3 separate regions of the Homo sapiens genome follow, and all the other regions are linked to region 1. Evidence: promoter capture Hi-C in human tissues and cell types (Jung and others, 2019). All regions are on one chromosome and are shown on one strand. Each heading gives the region's core, a stretch centred on a gene start or on the middle of the fragment in contact. The rest is flanking DNA. Distances are from core to core; before and after follow the strand shown.

Region 1 (4,938 bases), core at 2,266-4,765:
CATGCCTGTAATCCCAGCCCTTAGGGAGGCCTAGGCAGGTGGATCACCTGAGGTCAGGAGTTTGAGACCAGCCTGGCCAACATGGTGAAACCCAGTCTCTACTAAAAATACAAAAATTAAAAAAAGAAAAAGAAATAAAAAGAAAAAAAAGAAAAAATAAACAAGAAAAACAAAACAAACAAACAAATAAAACTAAAAATACAAAAATTAGCCGGGCATGGTGGCGGGCACCTATAATCCCAGCTACTTAGGAGGCTGGGGCAGGAGAGTCGCTTGAACCCGGGGGGCAGAGGTTGCAGGAGCCAATATCATGCCATTGCAATCCAGCCTGGGCAACAAGATCGAAACTCCATCTCAAAAAAAAAAAAAGTGTTTAGTAAGCACTCGAAAAACATTCAATTACAGTTAATTAAATTATTATTATATGGGCTGGGCACAGTGGTTCATGTCTGTAATCTCAGCCCTTTGGGAGGCCTAGGTGGGCAGATCACCTGAGGTAAGGAGTTTGAGACCAGCCTGGCTAACATGGTGAAACTCCATCTGTACTAAAAATACAAAAATTAGTCGGGCATGGTGGTGGGCGCCTGTAATCCCAGCTACTGAGGAGGCTGGGGCAGGAGAATTGCTTGAACCCATGAGGTGGAGGTTGCAGTGAGCTTAGATCACGCCACTGCACTCCAGCCTGGGTGACAGAGGAGACTCCAGCTCAAAAAAAAAATTATTATATGTTATTTAAATTATTATTTCTCTGACCAGTAAGTGGTCATAGAACTACATATATATAAGAAAAGGCCCCATCTCACACCTTAGTTTGAAAGGATTGCAGCTTTTCAATCTGCCTTTCTGAAAAGTATGTAGGATTCAGAGGCTAAGAGGCCAGGCCCAGAGTCCAAAACTGTGCTGCCCAGTACAAGAGCCACTAACCACACGTGACTACTGATCACGTGAAATGTGGATAGTCAGAATTTAGATGTGCTATAAATGTAAAATACATGCTGGATTTCAAAGTTGGTGTGAACAAAATAAGTAAAATATCTCATTAATTTTTTTTTTTTTGAGACGGAGTTTCACTCTTTTTGCCCAGGCTGAAGTGCAGTGCTGTGATCTCAGCTCACTGCAACCTCCGCCTTCTGGGTTCAAGTGATTCTTCTGCCTCAGCCTCCAGAGTAGCTGGCTAGGATTACAGGCATGCGCCACCATGCCTGGCTAATTTTTGTATTTTTAGTAGAGACGGGATTTCACCATGTTGGTCAGGCTGGTCTTGAACTCCTGACCTCAGGTTATTCACCTGCCTTGGCCTCCCAAAGTGCTGGGATTACAGGCGTGAGCCACCGTGCCCGGCCTCATTAATATTTTTTATATTGATTACATGTTGAAATGATAATATTTTGGATATGTTGGGTTAAATAAGATGTGTTTTCATTTGTTTCCTTTTTACTTTTTTGTGATGTGGCTACTATAAGATTTAATACTACCTAGTGGTTCATAGTATGTTTCTGCTGGACAGTACTGGTCCATTACAACATACTACATTCAGTTTTGGAAATTACTGGGTTCTATCTGAGAAATTTCTATAAAGAAATATGAAGATTATGGATAAATCTCCTTGCCTTTGACACTTTAAATAACATTTTTAAAATTGTTATTTCATTTTTATTTTTTTAGAGACAGGGCCTCACTCTGTCATCTGGAGTGCAGTGGCACCATTACAGCTCACTGCAGCCTCCATCCACCTCCTGGGCTCAAGTGATCCTCCCGTCTCAGCCTCCCGAGTAGCTGGGATCATAGGCACACGTCACCACACCTGGGCCCACTTTTTTTTTTTTTTTTTTGAGACAGAGTCTCGTTGTCGCCCAGGCTGGAGTGTAGTGGCGTGATCTTGGCTCGCTGCAACCTCCGCCTCCCGGGTTCAAGCGATTCTCCTGTCTCAGCCTCCCTAGTAGCTGGGACTACAGGCACATGACACTATGCCAGGCTAATTTTTGTATTTTTAGTAGAGATAGGGTTTCACCATATTGGCCAGGCTGGTCTCGAACTCCTGACCTCGTGATCCACCTGCCTCAGCCTCCCAAAGTGCTGGGATTACAGGTGTGAGCCACCGTACCTGGCCCTGGCCCCCCTTTTTAAAGATAATTTCAGTTACATTATATATATATATATATATATATATATATGCATTTGTATATATACCTCCTCAATTTGCAAGGTATCTACAGAACTGAGAGAGCCACAGATAGTTCACCATTAAAGAGGCCATGATTGCTGAAGGATCTTTTAGTTTAAAAAGAAACAAAGATGAAAATGGGGAAAAGGTGAAACATCCCATTTTATTTATTTATTTATTTATTTATTTATTTATTTTGAGACAGAGTCTCACTCTGTCGCCCAGGCTGGAGTGCAGTGGCGCAATCTCGGCTCACTGCAACCTCCACCTCCAGGGTTCAAGCGATTCTCCTACCTCAGCCTCCCGAATAGCTGGGACAACAGGCGCCCGCCACCAAGCCCGGCTATTTTTTTTTTTTTTGTATTTTTAGTAGAGACGGGGTTTCACCATATTGGCCAGGCTGGTCTTGAACTCCTAACCTTGTGATCCGCCCGCCTCGGCCTCCCAAATTGCTGGGATTACAGGCGTGAGCCACCGCGACCGCCCGAAACATCCCATTTTAAACATTAAATCATGGAAACAAAAATACAGTTTTTGAAATCACTCCCTCAAAAGTCCAAATCTCATTGGTTGAAGTAACCTAGATTATTAAAGGTTTTTTTTTTTTTTTTTTTTTTTGAGACGGAGTCTTGCTCTGTCGCCCAGGCTGGAGTGCAGTGGTGTGATCTCGGCTCACTGCAAGCTCCGCCTCCCGGGTTCACGCCATTCTCCTGCCTCAGCCTCCTGAGTAGCTGGGACTACAGGCGCCCGCCACCACGCCCGGCTAATTTTTTGTACTTTTAGTAGAGACGGGGTTTCACCATGTTAGCCAGGATGGTCTCGATCTCCTTGACCTCGTGATCCGCCCGCCTCGGCCTCCCGAAGTGCTGGGATTACAGGCGTGAGACACTGCGCCCGGCTATTAAAGGTTTTATAACAAAACTTTCAAATCATCCTTTGAATTTGCTACTTAACAGGAACTAAGGCCAGAGAGCCTCAAGTCAGGGCTTTTCGCTGACCTGGAGGCAGAATCCAGTTTGGGGTTTTGCTTGTAACTGGTATTTTATGCATGCGACCCTGGCTGAACTGACCAACTGCGTAGGCTTCAATTTCCCGAGGGCCCCTTATGCCTTTCCTTCCTCTGATCAAGCCCTTCCCGGCTCCTTCCAGTTGGAAGGCCGCCCCCAGTCCTGAGCGGCGCCGACAGGTGCAGCGCCCGCCTCCAGCCCTGCGCTCGCGCGAGCAACCCGACGCCCTCCCGCCCCGCCGGCCGCGCCCTCGTCCTCGCCGCTCCGCCCTCTGCCCAGGCGTGCGCGCGCACTCCACGGGGGCGCGCCCGGCCGGCGGGGCCGCGCACGCAGCCGCCGCCACCACTTCCCCCTCTCCCTCCCTCCTTGCGGGCCCTCCTCCCCTTCCCTCCCCTCCGCCCCCTTCCCCGTAGGCAGCCCGCCCGCCAGTCCGCCCGCACCGCCTCCTTCCCAGCCCCTAGCGCTCCGGCTGGGTCTCTCCCCCGCCCCCCAGGCTCCCCCGGTCGCTCTCCTCCGGCGGTCGCCCGCGCTCGGTGGATGTGGCTGGCAGCTGCCGCCCCCTCCCTCGCTCGCCGCCTGCTCTTCCTCGGCCCTCCGCCTCCTCCCCTCCTCCTTCTCGTCTTCAGCCGCTCCTCTCGCCGCCGCCTCCACAGCCTGGGCCTCGCCGCGATGCCGGAGAAGAGGCCCTTCGAGCGGCTGCCTGCCGATGTCTCCCCCATCAACTACAGCCTTTGCCTCAAGCCCGACTTGCTGGACTTCACCTTCGAGGGCAAGCTGGAGGCCGCCGCCCAGGTACAGCGACCCTCGGGCCCCGGGGCAAGCTGCGGGGCGAGCAGTTAGGCCGCGCCCGCGGGCTGGACTCAGGGCCCGGCCGGGAGGGCGGGCGGGCCTCGGGTCGGGGCTGGGCGGCCGCAGGGCGCCGGGTTCGGCGTGCTCTGCCTTGCTCTGTTGGGGCTGGGGCTGGGGCTGGGGCTGGGGCCGGGGCAGGGACCGTGGCCGGAGCTGAGGCTGGGGCTCGGGCTGGGGCCGCGCTGCGGGAGCTCTGGGGAGCCGGCGGCCCGGCCATTGCGCCCCTCCCCGGCGAGCACACCTGTGTGGGGCTTTCCCCCCCGCCCCGGACCCTTCTGGGCTTGATAGTGTTCCGGGGGAGGCTGGAGGGTGTTGGGGGAGGACGGAGAGGTCATGGGAGTCCCCGCTCTGCCTCAACCACCTGACTCAGTTCTTTCTTTGGTTTCTCTCTACACCTCTCGGGTGATAGATTGGAGGGGGTGGTCATTTGGGACTCTGGCCGCCGCGTTGGAGCGACGAGGGGAGCTTCTAGAAGGGGGGGGAGAGGGTGAGAACGAGAATGTTAATCCCAGGCAGCCTCGCTGACTTCTCCCCGCCTGCTCCAGCCCAGGGGCTGGGTTTCCAAGATGATCCGCCCCCTCCCCCTTTCCCTCAAGTGACAGTGCAGCAGTGACTTTGTTCTCTCTTAACCTCCAGAGAAGCTGCGGGAGGACCCCATCTCCGCTTTTCCACCTATCTTCCTAGCTTTGCGGCCTTCGAAGCTGGTGGATTTATTGCTACCGTGATGGTTGCTTAGCAGTACCTTCCTCTCCCAAGAAGCTGGCTGGGCGCGGTGGCTCATGCCTGTAATCCCAGCACTTTGGGAGGCTGAGGCGGGCGCACTTGAGGTCAGGAGTTCGGGACCAGCCTGACCAACATGGTGAAACCCCCGTCTCTACTAAAAATACAAAAATTAGCGGGGCGTGGTGGCGGGCCCCT
Region 2 (4,672 bases), core at 1,215-3,714, 130 kb after region 1:
TAGCCACTGGAGACACAGTATTTTAGATGTAGCCCCCCCAGCACTGTTGTTCCTGATGAGGTTACCACTCTTGGTGTGTATTTTAATATATAGACTTTATGAAGCAAAGGAGCCCACAGCACTTGACCCAGACTTAGACTCCCTAGATGTGCCTAGGTGTCGATCCTTGGCCTTGGCCCTTAAATGCCCTGAAGCTTTACTTTAGAGTACAGATGGCCTGGAAAATACGAACAGACTGCCATCTCCATTTGCACAGAAGTGGGGAGGAAAGCGAATATTACCTCATACCCAGAGTCATTATGCTAAGAAGTCAAAGATGAAGTTGATGAGTTTGACTTGGTTTTGTTCAGTTCTGGATTGCCAGTACCATGAGACATTTTGCAGGTGGTTTGCAGTGTTATTCCCAAATGGAAACGGGTGGGGAAAGATCACCAATTCATGATACTTTCTTGAGTGAACTTTACAGTTAAAAGGACTGCCAATTAAGCCAGGCACAGTGGCTTACACCTGTAGTCCCAGCTGCTTGGGAAGCTGAGGTGGGAGGATCACTTGAACCCAGGAATTTGAGGGTTCAGTGCATTGTGGTAGTGCCTGTGAATAGCCACTGCACTTTAGTCTGGGCAATACAGACCCTGTCTCTTAAGAACAGAAGAAGGACTGCTTCTGTCGTGAAGCTCCTTATGGCAGTCTTTTGGAGGGGATTGATTCCAGCACCCTCCTCAGGTACCAAAATCCTCAGATGTTCAAGTCTGTTACATAAAATGGTGTAGTATTTGCATATAACCTATGCACATCCTCCCATATACTTTAAATCATCTCTAGAATACTTACAATACCTAATTCAATGTAAATGCTATATTAATAGTTGGTATACTGTATTAAGGGAATGATGACAAGAAAAAAAGGTGTACATGCACCTTTTGGTGCAGTACAGATGCAACCATCCATTTTTTTTCCTCTAAATATTTTCAATCCATAGTTGTTTGAATCCACAGATGTGGAACCCATGGCTGCAGAGGGCTGACTGTATATTCATTGCACTTCTCTGCTTGTTACAGGACCCAGAGCAGCTACAAGATAAATCCAATGAGATTCTGACTGCCATAATCCAGGGGATGAGGAAAGAAGAGCCTAGTAATAATGTGAAGCTAGCTGCTACGAATGCACTCCTGAACTCATTGGAGTTCACCAAAGCAAACTTTGATAAAGAGGTAAGTTTTTTGACAATAAGGTATAGATTCAGACAGTAAGGGATGAAAGAGTTGAATGAAAGTTTTTTGTTTTGTTTTCTTAAGTTTATGGTTTAGAAAGTACCACCTACTTAAAAGTATTTGTTTCCAGTTTAGTCGAGTTCGTATTGTGTGAGATATCCCCATGGAGTGTTTGCCGTTTCTCATCATGCTTTTGGAAATAAAGTGTTTCTAAGCTTAGGTTTTTCCTTTTGCAGTCCAAAGTGTGGAATGTTGTTGGGTTTTTTTAAATTATAGGGCATGGTGGTGCATACTGGTACTCCAGCTACTTCAGAGGCTAAGGCGGGAGGATTGCTTGAGTCCAGTTATTCAAGGCCAGCCTGGGCAACAAAGTCAGATATCGTCCCTTAAAAAAAAGAAAGGAATAGGCTGGGCGATGTGGCTTAAGCCTGTAATCCCAGCACTTTGGGAGGCTGAGGCGGGTGGATCATCAGGTCAGGAGTTTGAGACCAGCCTGACGAACATGGTGAAACCCCATCTCTACTAAAAATACAAAAAAATTAGCCGGGTGTGGTGGCGTGCGCCTGTAATCCCAGCTACTCAGGAGGCTGAGGCAGGAGAATCACTTGAACCTGGGAGGCAGAGGTTGCAGTGAGCCGAGATTGCAGCACTGTATTCCAGCCTGGGCGACAGAGCAAGACTGTCTCAAAAAAAATAAAAAATAAAAAAAATAAAAGAAAGAAATTATGGTATGTACTATATATGTTGGTTTACTTTGGTTTCTTTTAAGATTGTGTGAATCTTTTGCCTTGTACTAAAGATTTTGTGGAGGCCGGGTGCTGGGGCTCACATCCAGTAATCCCAACACTTTGGGCCACCAAGGCAAGAGGATCACTTGAAGCCAGGAGTTTGAGACTAGCCTGTGCAACGTAACAAAACCCTGTCTCTAAAAAAATTTCTGTGGAGAAGAACAACTGAGTTGTTAACCAGTTTTGTGAGCTCTTGTGTTTACAGGGCTTATAATGGAAAAAAAATAATGAAAAATGAAATAAATAAAAATTATAGCAATTGGTCTGTTTCATACCACCTTAGGAAGGTGTTTTTAAGAAACAGGATATATAGCCAGGTGCTTTGGCACATGCCTGTAATCCCAGCTACTTGGGAAGCTGAGGTGGGAGGATCACTTGAGCCTGGGAGTTCAAGGCTCAAGATTTCACCACTGTACTTCAGCCTGGGCAACAGTGCAAGACTCTGTCTCCAAAAAAAAAAAATATATATATATGTATATGTATGTGTATGTATAATATATATGTAAACATTTTGGCTGAAAATGCAATGAATAACATAAAATTTACCATCTTAAATCATTTTTAAATGTATAGTTAGTTAAGTAGATTCACATTGCTGTGGAAACAATCTCCAGAACTTTTTCATCTTGCAAAACTGAAACTGTACATACTGAACAACAACTCCTCATTTCCCCCTTTCTCAGCCACTGGTAACGACCATTTTACTTTCAGTTTCTATGTATTTTACTACTCTAACGAAATACCTTACGTAAGTGGAATCATATTTGTCTTTTTGCGACTGGTTTGTTTTACTTAGTATGATGTCCTCGAGATTCATCTAAGGGGTAGCATTTGTCAAAATTGGCTTTTTAAGGGTGATTAATATTCCATTATATGTATATGCCACATTTTGTTTATCTAGTCTTCCATCCATGGCCATTTGGTTTGCATCCACCTTTTGGCTATTGTGGGTAATGCTGCTATGAACATGGGCATGCATGTGTATCTTTGAGACTCTGCTTTCAGTTCTTTAGGGTAAATACCGACAAGTAAAATTGCCAGGGTCATGGTCTGAAAGTATTTCTGTATATATGTTTGTTGACACTTCAGCTGGGTTTTTACCATTTCTTGACTTTGGAAAGGTCTGAAACCCCAGAGCAAATGGCAATTCTAATTGATTAGAAAACTGGATTTTTCCTTAATAGATTTTGGAAGATTTAGGAGGGTAGCACATAAAGTTCATTCTCCCTTTTCTCACCACATTTGATGTGAATTTGCTACCTCTCAGAAAACAAATTTGGTCTCTGAAATAAAGCAGATGTTTTGAATTCTCTTATATAAGGAAACTGATTTTCCTACATGTAAATTTTTATCTTTTAACCATTTTTATTTAAAACTTGTGACCTACATTTTTCTGTTTCCTCCCTGAAGTCTTTGTTAGTGGTCATTTTGGAGATTAAAAGATTAGGGACCTCATTGGAGGGCAAGTCACATAGCAGACACCGAAGGTAAACTCTTTATAGCCTTTATAGTGCTGTACCATCTCAAGGGAGAGTGGCTTGATTGTACCAGGCAGGGCTGTGTGGGGCCCTGAGGGGGAGTGAGAGGTTTTCCTTGTAGAGGGAGTCTGGAAATCTTCCTACGTACAGGTTATGCTCTCCTAATTCTCTTTATTTTTATTCCTCCTACAGTCTGAAAGGCACTTTATTATGCAGGTGGTCTGTGAAGCCACACAGTGTCCAGATACGAGGGTAAGTGTGAGGTTATATGAAAAATCTGTCTTACATCTTTCTTAGGAAATGTCAAATCTAATATAAGTTTGAAATACTGGGAATCAGTTGACTTCAGCAATAAGGTTTGATTAATATTGTTACTAATAATTAATATTCTGGCTGGGCATGGTGGCTCACACCTGTAATCCCAGCACTTAGGGAGGCCATGGCAGGCAGTTCACCTGAGGTTAGGAGTTTCATACCAGTCTGGCCAACATGGTGAAACCCTGTCTCTACTAAAAATAAAAAAAAATTAGCTGGGTGTGGTGGCACGTGCCTGTAGTCCCAGCTGCTGGGGAGGCTGAGGTACAAGAATCGCTTGAACCTGGGAGGTGGAGGTTGCAGTGAGCCAAGATCATGCCACTGCAAACAGACTCCATCTCAAAAAATAATAATGATAATTAATAAAAACATTAGAGAAGAGGGAAGAATTGTCATGGAAGTTGCCATCCTCTTAAAAAAGGTTTAAGGTGCCAGTGTGGTGGCTCACACTATAATCCCAGCAATTTGGGAGGCCAAAGCAGGAGGATCACTGAGGTCAGGAGTTGGAGACCAAACTGGGCAACATAGTGACACCATCTCTACTAAAAAATATGTATACACAAATAAACAGTTAAGGGAGAAAAGGTTTTCGATCAGCTTCGCTACTTCATTGCCGTAGGTTATTCAAGCCATTTCTACTAAAAAATATATATACACAAACAGTTAAGGGAGAAAAGGTTTTTGATCAGCTTTGCTACTTTATTGCCATAGGTTATTCAAGTGATTGTTTTCCCCTGTAGCCATTAAAGCAGCTTTGCTATTGCTATACCCAAAACCTGACCCTTCAAGAAGATAGAAGTAATATCTTCAGTCTGAATAGTATTAGTGAATTTAGCCGTACCATGGGTTCCACACGCACCTTTAATGCAAAAAAAAAGAC
Region 3 (4,583 bases), core at 900-3,399, 200 kb before region 1:
GCTATATGGGGTGTTTACTGTTTCCATATGAATGTTAGGATTTTTTTATTTCTGTGAAAAATGACATCGGAATTTTGAGAGGAATTGCATTGAATCTGTAGATATCATTGGAAAGTATGGACATTTAAACAATATTAATTTTTTGAATCCATGAACTTGGGCTATTTTCTCATTTATTTGTGTCTTCTTCAGTTTCCTTTATCAAAGTTTTATAGTTTTTTTTTTGTTAAAATTTCATCATTCTAACAGGTATGTAATGATGGTATTTCCTTTTAATTTGCAGTTCCCTAATCCCATTATAATGTTGAGCCTCTTTTCATATCATTATTTACCATGTTTCTGTGTATCTTCTTTGGTGAGGTGTCTGTTCAAGTCTTTAGCTCATTTTAAAATTGAGTTCTTTTTTATTATGTTTTAAGAGTTCTTTGTATATTTTGGATGACAGTTCTTTATAAAATATGTCTTTTGAAAACATTTTCTCCCAGTCTGTGACTTGTCCTTTCATTGTCTTGATATGGTGTCTTTCACAGAGCAGAAGCTTTAAATGAAGTTTAACTTATCGATTATTTCTTTCATGGATCATGGCTTTAGTTTGTATCTAAAATCGAGTTAATGTTTATAATAAAAATACTGCTTTGCAAAGAGTATGATAAACTTTTGTATCTTTCTTGGCAAAGAGTATGATAAACTTTTGTACCTTGATGCCTTAAGAGCTAGATCCAGGCTGGGAGAGGTAGCTCATGCCTGTAATTCTAGCACTTTGGGAGGCTGAGGTGGGAGGACTGCTTGAGCTCAGAAGTTCGAGACCAGCCTTGGCAATGTAGGGAGACCTCGTCTCTACGAATAATAAAAAATTAGCCACGCATGATGGTGCATGTCTGTGGTCTCAGCTTCTCAGGAGGCTGAGGTGGGAGAATTGCTTGAGCCTGGGAGGTCAAGGCTGCAGTGAGCCATGATTGCACCACGGACTCCACCCTAGGCAACAAAAAGAGACCCTGTCTCAAAAAAAGAAAAAGTGCTAGATGCAATAACTGTTAGACATATTCATAAATGATGTTCTTTTATAGCTGTATAATGCACTAAGGATAATTGGAGTTATTTAGAGTATGTACTGAATCTGGAAAAATAATACATTAGTGAGTAAAACCTTTTTCAACAAAATTCTCTTCGGTAGCACTATTTGAGAAAGAATATCAATCTAAAATGAATGATTGACCCAGAATGTCATATTTAATATGTATGTGCAAAGAGGACATGCTTGATTGTGGCTCTTATATTCCCCAGGCAGAGGAAAATATTGACTTATTAGATGATGGCTCTAATTCTTTTGCAACTGACTTGTCATCAGGAACTATTAACCACAAGAAATACATCAAGTTTTCTAAAACAATAGAGAAGGAAATTTCACCGGAAATTAGGAGTTTGAGCCCAGAATATAAAAAAATGTAAGTTAAAAACTCTGAACTTACTTTATTGAATTATACTTTTGCAAGTTAAGAATGCCAAAATGTAGCTGTGGCTTATGCGTTCTCATAATGTACCATGTGTATAGGATCATGCATATTTGTGGTCATTCTTTCAGTAGCATAATTTTAACTCCTAAATAGCTGTTCTTACATTTTTTCTGACTTCTCTCACAGCCATCTATAGGCTTCCATGTTGTCTAAGTTGGTTCTCACATTGTTATAAAGAACTACTTGAGACTACGTAATTTATAAATAAAAGAGGTTTAATTGCTCATGGTTCTGCAGACTTTACAGGAAGCGAGGCTGGGGAAGCCTCAGGAAACTTAGAATCATGGTGGAAGGGGAAGGGGGAGCAAGCATATCTTCACAAGGCCAGCAGGAGGGAGAGTGAAGAGGGAAGTGCCACATACTTTTAAACAAACAGATCTCATGAGAACTCACTCAGTATCATGAGAACAACAAGTGGGAAATCTGCCCCCATGATCCAATCACTTCCTACCAGGTCTCTCCCCCAATATTGGGGATTACAATTCAACATGAGATTTAGGTAGGGACACAGAGTCAAACTATATCACATGTGGAAGCCTATAAGTAAGCTATAAGCTAACTGGAATCATAGGATTCTAGTTAGAGGAGAACAGTTATCCATATGTCTGTTAAGTTTGTCTTAAAGAGAATTTAAGAAGGAAACAGAAGGTTCTTTCCTCTAGGCTTGGCTTTGTGTCTTCCATGAAATTAAGATATTTGAATAGTTTTTTTTTTTTTTTGAGATGGAGCCTCACTCTGTCACCCAGGCTGGAGTGCAGTGGCGCAGCCATGGCTCACTGCAACCTCCACCTCCTGGGTTCAAGTGATTCTTCTGCCTCAGCCTCCTGAGTAGCTGGGACTACAGGCGTGCGCCGTCACACTCGGCTATTTTTTTTTTTTTTTTTGAAATGGAGTCTCGCTGTGTTGCCCAGGCTGGAGTGTAGTGGCACGATCTTGGCTCACTGCAAGCTGCGCCTCCTGGGTTCAAGCCATTCTCCTGCCTCAGCCTCCCAAGTAGCTGGGATTATAGGCGACCACCACCATGCATGGCTAATTTTTTGTATTTTTAGTAGAGATGGGGTTTCACCATGTTAGCCATGATGGTCTCGATCTCCTGACCTCATGATCCGCCTGCTTCTGCCTCCCAAAGTGCTGGGATTATAGGCGTGAGCCACCGCACCTGGCCAATTTTTTTTTTTTTTTTTTTTGTATTTTTAGTAGAGACGGGATTTCACCATATTGGCTAGGCTGGTCTTGAACTCCTGACCTCATGATCTGCCCGCCTGAGCCTCCCAAAGTGCTGGGATTACAAGCGTGAGCCACTGCACCCGACCAAGCTATTTGAATCTTTTAGCAGTTCTTTCTTGTATACTGCATTGCCTGGTTGCCTTTTGTTAGTCGTAGAAGTTCTAGCATTTTAAATGCATGTAGGAGAAATACTCAATCTGTATTTATTATTTATAAAATGACTAAAAAATAAAAAAAAATCTAAAAGCCTCTGGGAAAACATTCAGAGCTTATGTCACTTTATCTTTAACTAAATGCTCATCTTACCTGTTGGTGAAACTGGAAATTACCTACACATTGTGATTGGAGAGGCACCTAAATAAAAATCTCCTCTACCTTCCAGAAATCTGTATTTCACTTTTATTTAATCTAACATTTTCACCACTACTCCTGTTTGTTAGATGGCAAAAGATGAAGCAATTATTTCTAGAAGACTACAATAAAACTTGTTACCTAGGAAGAAAAGGAAGGTCGTGGGAGGTTAGGAAGAAAAGGAAGGTCGTGGGAGCATCCCTTTACCTTCTTCCATTAGCTTTCTTCAAGATAGGTTAGCACTGTGGGAAGCACATGCCTCAAAAGAATGGGGTACAGTGCATGTTTTCCCTTGTAAGTGGGAGCTAAACAATTCATACACATGGACATACAGAGTAGAATAATAGACATTGGGACTACAAATGTAGGAGGAGGGGTGAGGGTTGAATTTGGTGATGGGTACACTGAAAGCCTAAACTCACCACAATGCCTATGTGCATGTAAGAAATCTGCACTTGTACCCTCTAAATATATAAAAATAAAAAAAATTTAAAAATGGGGTACAGGACAAATGTTTTTACTTATTCATTATTTATACCAAATCATCCTTATTCTATGAAATGTGTGAAGTAGCTCATAATTAAAAAATACACTTTTGTTTACCTAAATAAGGAAACTGAGGCAAAATTAATATAAGTAGAGAGTTTGTTTAGGCCCAGGTTGAGGACTGCAGCCTGGGAAACACTGGGAGGTACTCTGAAGAACAAAGGAGAGGTTCAATATTTTAAAGAAAAAAGGAACCAATCAGGAGATGGGTTGATTACAAAAGTTGTTTTTCAGGAATTCTTACTGGCTTACAGAAATAACATTGATTAGTGATTGGCTATATATTGCTGAACTGTAGCGTATGAGTTATAGTATCCAGTGTATGGCATTGTTAGGTTAATTTGTGGCTACTTGGTGACAGTCTAGAGTCCACATAGCAGGCAACTTTGAAATAATTGCTTAGCTCAAGGGGATGTGAGACAGTGACTCCTATCTCATTTTAATGCCTCTTTGGGCCTGATAATTTAAAGAGGTCTTGCATTCATCAGATTAAAAATTTATTTTCTTTATCATTTTTTGAAAAAAGATGAAAGATCAAAAGTCATGTAATGGAGTGGAAGTCATGATTATATTAGAAATAAGAAGGCTCAACTTCAATAAGGATATATGGGGGATATAAAGCACCAGTAAACTGCAGGTTGTGACTCATTAATGGGTAATGGGTCATGAAATCAGGTTAGGAGGTCACTACTAGTTTTTTTTTTTTTTTTTCTTTCTTGAGTCAGGAGTTTACTCTACCACCCTGGCTGGAGTGCAGTGGCATGATCGTAGCTCATCGCAGCCTGGAACTCCTGGGCTTAAGGGATTCTCCTACCTCAGACTCCTGAGTAGCTAGGATTGCAGGTGTGCACCACCACGCCTGGCTAATTTTTAAATTTTTTGGAGAGGTGAGGTCTCACTATATTGCCCAGGCTGGTCTTGAACTCCTGGCCTGAAGCAGTCCTG

The links. The method cuts DNA at HindIII sites, captures the fragments that hold promoters and counts their contacts. A contact is called where the count stands out against the background at its distance.
Region 2: a fragment that was not itself captured here is called in contact with the fragment with the promoter of NPEPPS in region 1 in 1 of the 25 tissues and cell types used here (hippocampus).
Region 3: a contact is called between a fragment that was not itself captured here and the fragment with the promoter of NPEPPS in region 1, in 1 of the 25 tissues and cell types used here (mesenchymal stem cells).

Annotation. Positions count from the first base shown.
Region 1 is chr17:47,527,593-47,532,530 of GRCh38, forward strand. It overlaps NPEPPS (aminopeptidase puromycin sensitive), which reads left to right and starts at 3,516. Exons shown (of 23, transcript NM_006310.4): 1 at 3,516-3,963. The coding sequence starts at 3,709. RefSeq lists silencers at 4,026-4,175, 4,206-4,385. The HindIII fragment of the contact is 19,464 bases long and covers 1-4,938 here.
Region 2 is chr17:47,657,450-47,662,121 of GRCh38, forward strand. KPNB1 (karyopherin subunit beta 1) reads left to right here. Exons shown (of 22, transcript NM_002265.6): 5 at 1,059-1,211; 6 at 3,670-3,729. Among named protein-coding and RNA genes, the nearest start is that of KPNB1, 9.9 kb to the left of the region's middle. RefSeq lists an enhancer at 2,709-2,858. The HindIII fragment of the contact is 3,309 bases long and covers 811-4,119 here.
Region 3 is chr17:47,333,912-47,338,494 of GRCh38, forward strand. EFCAB13 (EF-hand calcium binding domain 13) reads left to right here. Exons shown (of 25, transcript NM_152347.5): 5 at 1,285-1,445. Among named protein-coding and RNA genes, the nearest start is that of EFCAB13, 12 kb to the left of the region's middle. The HindIII fragment of the contact is 8,980 bases long and covers 1-4,583 here.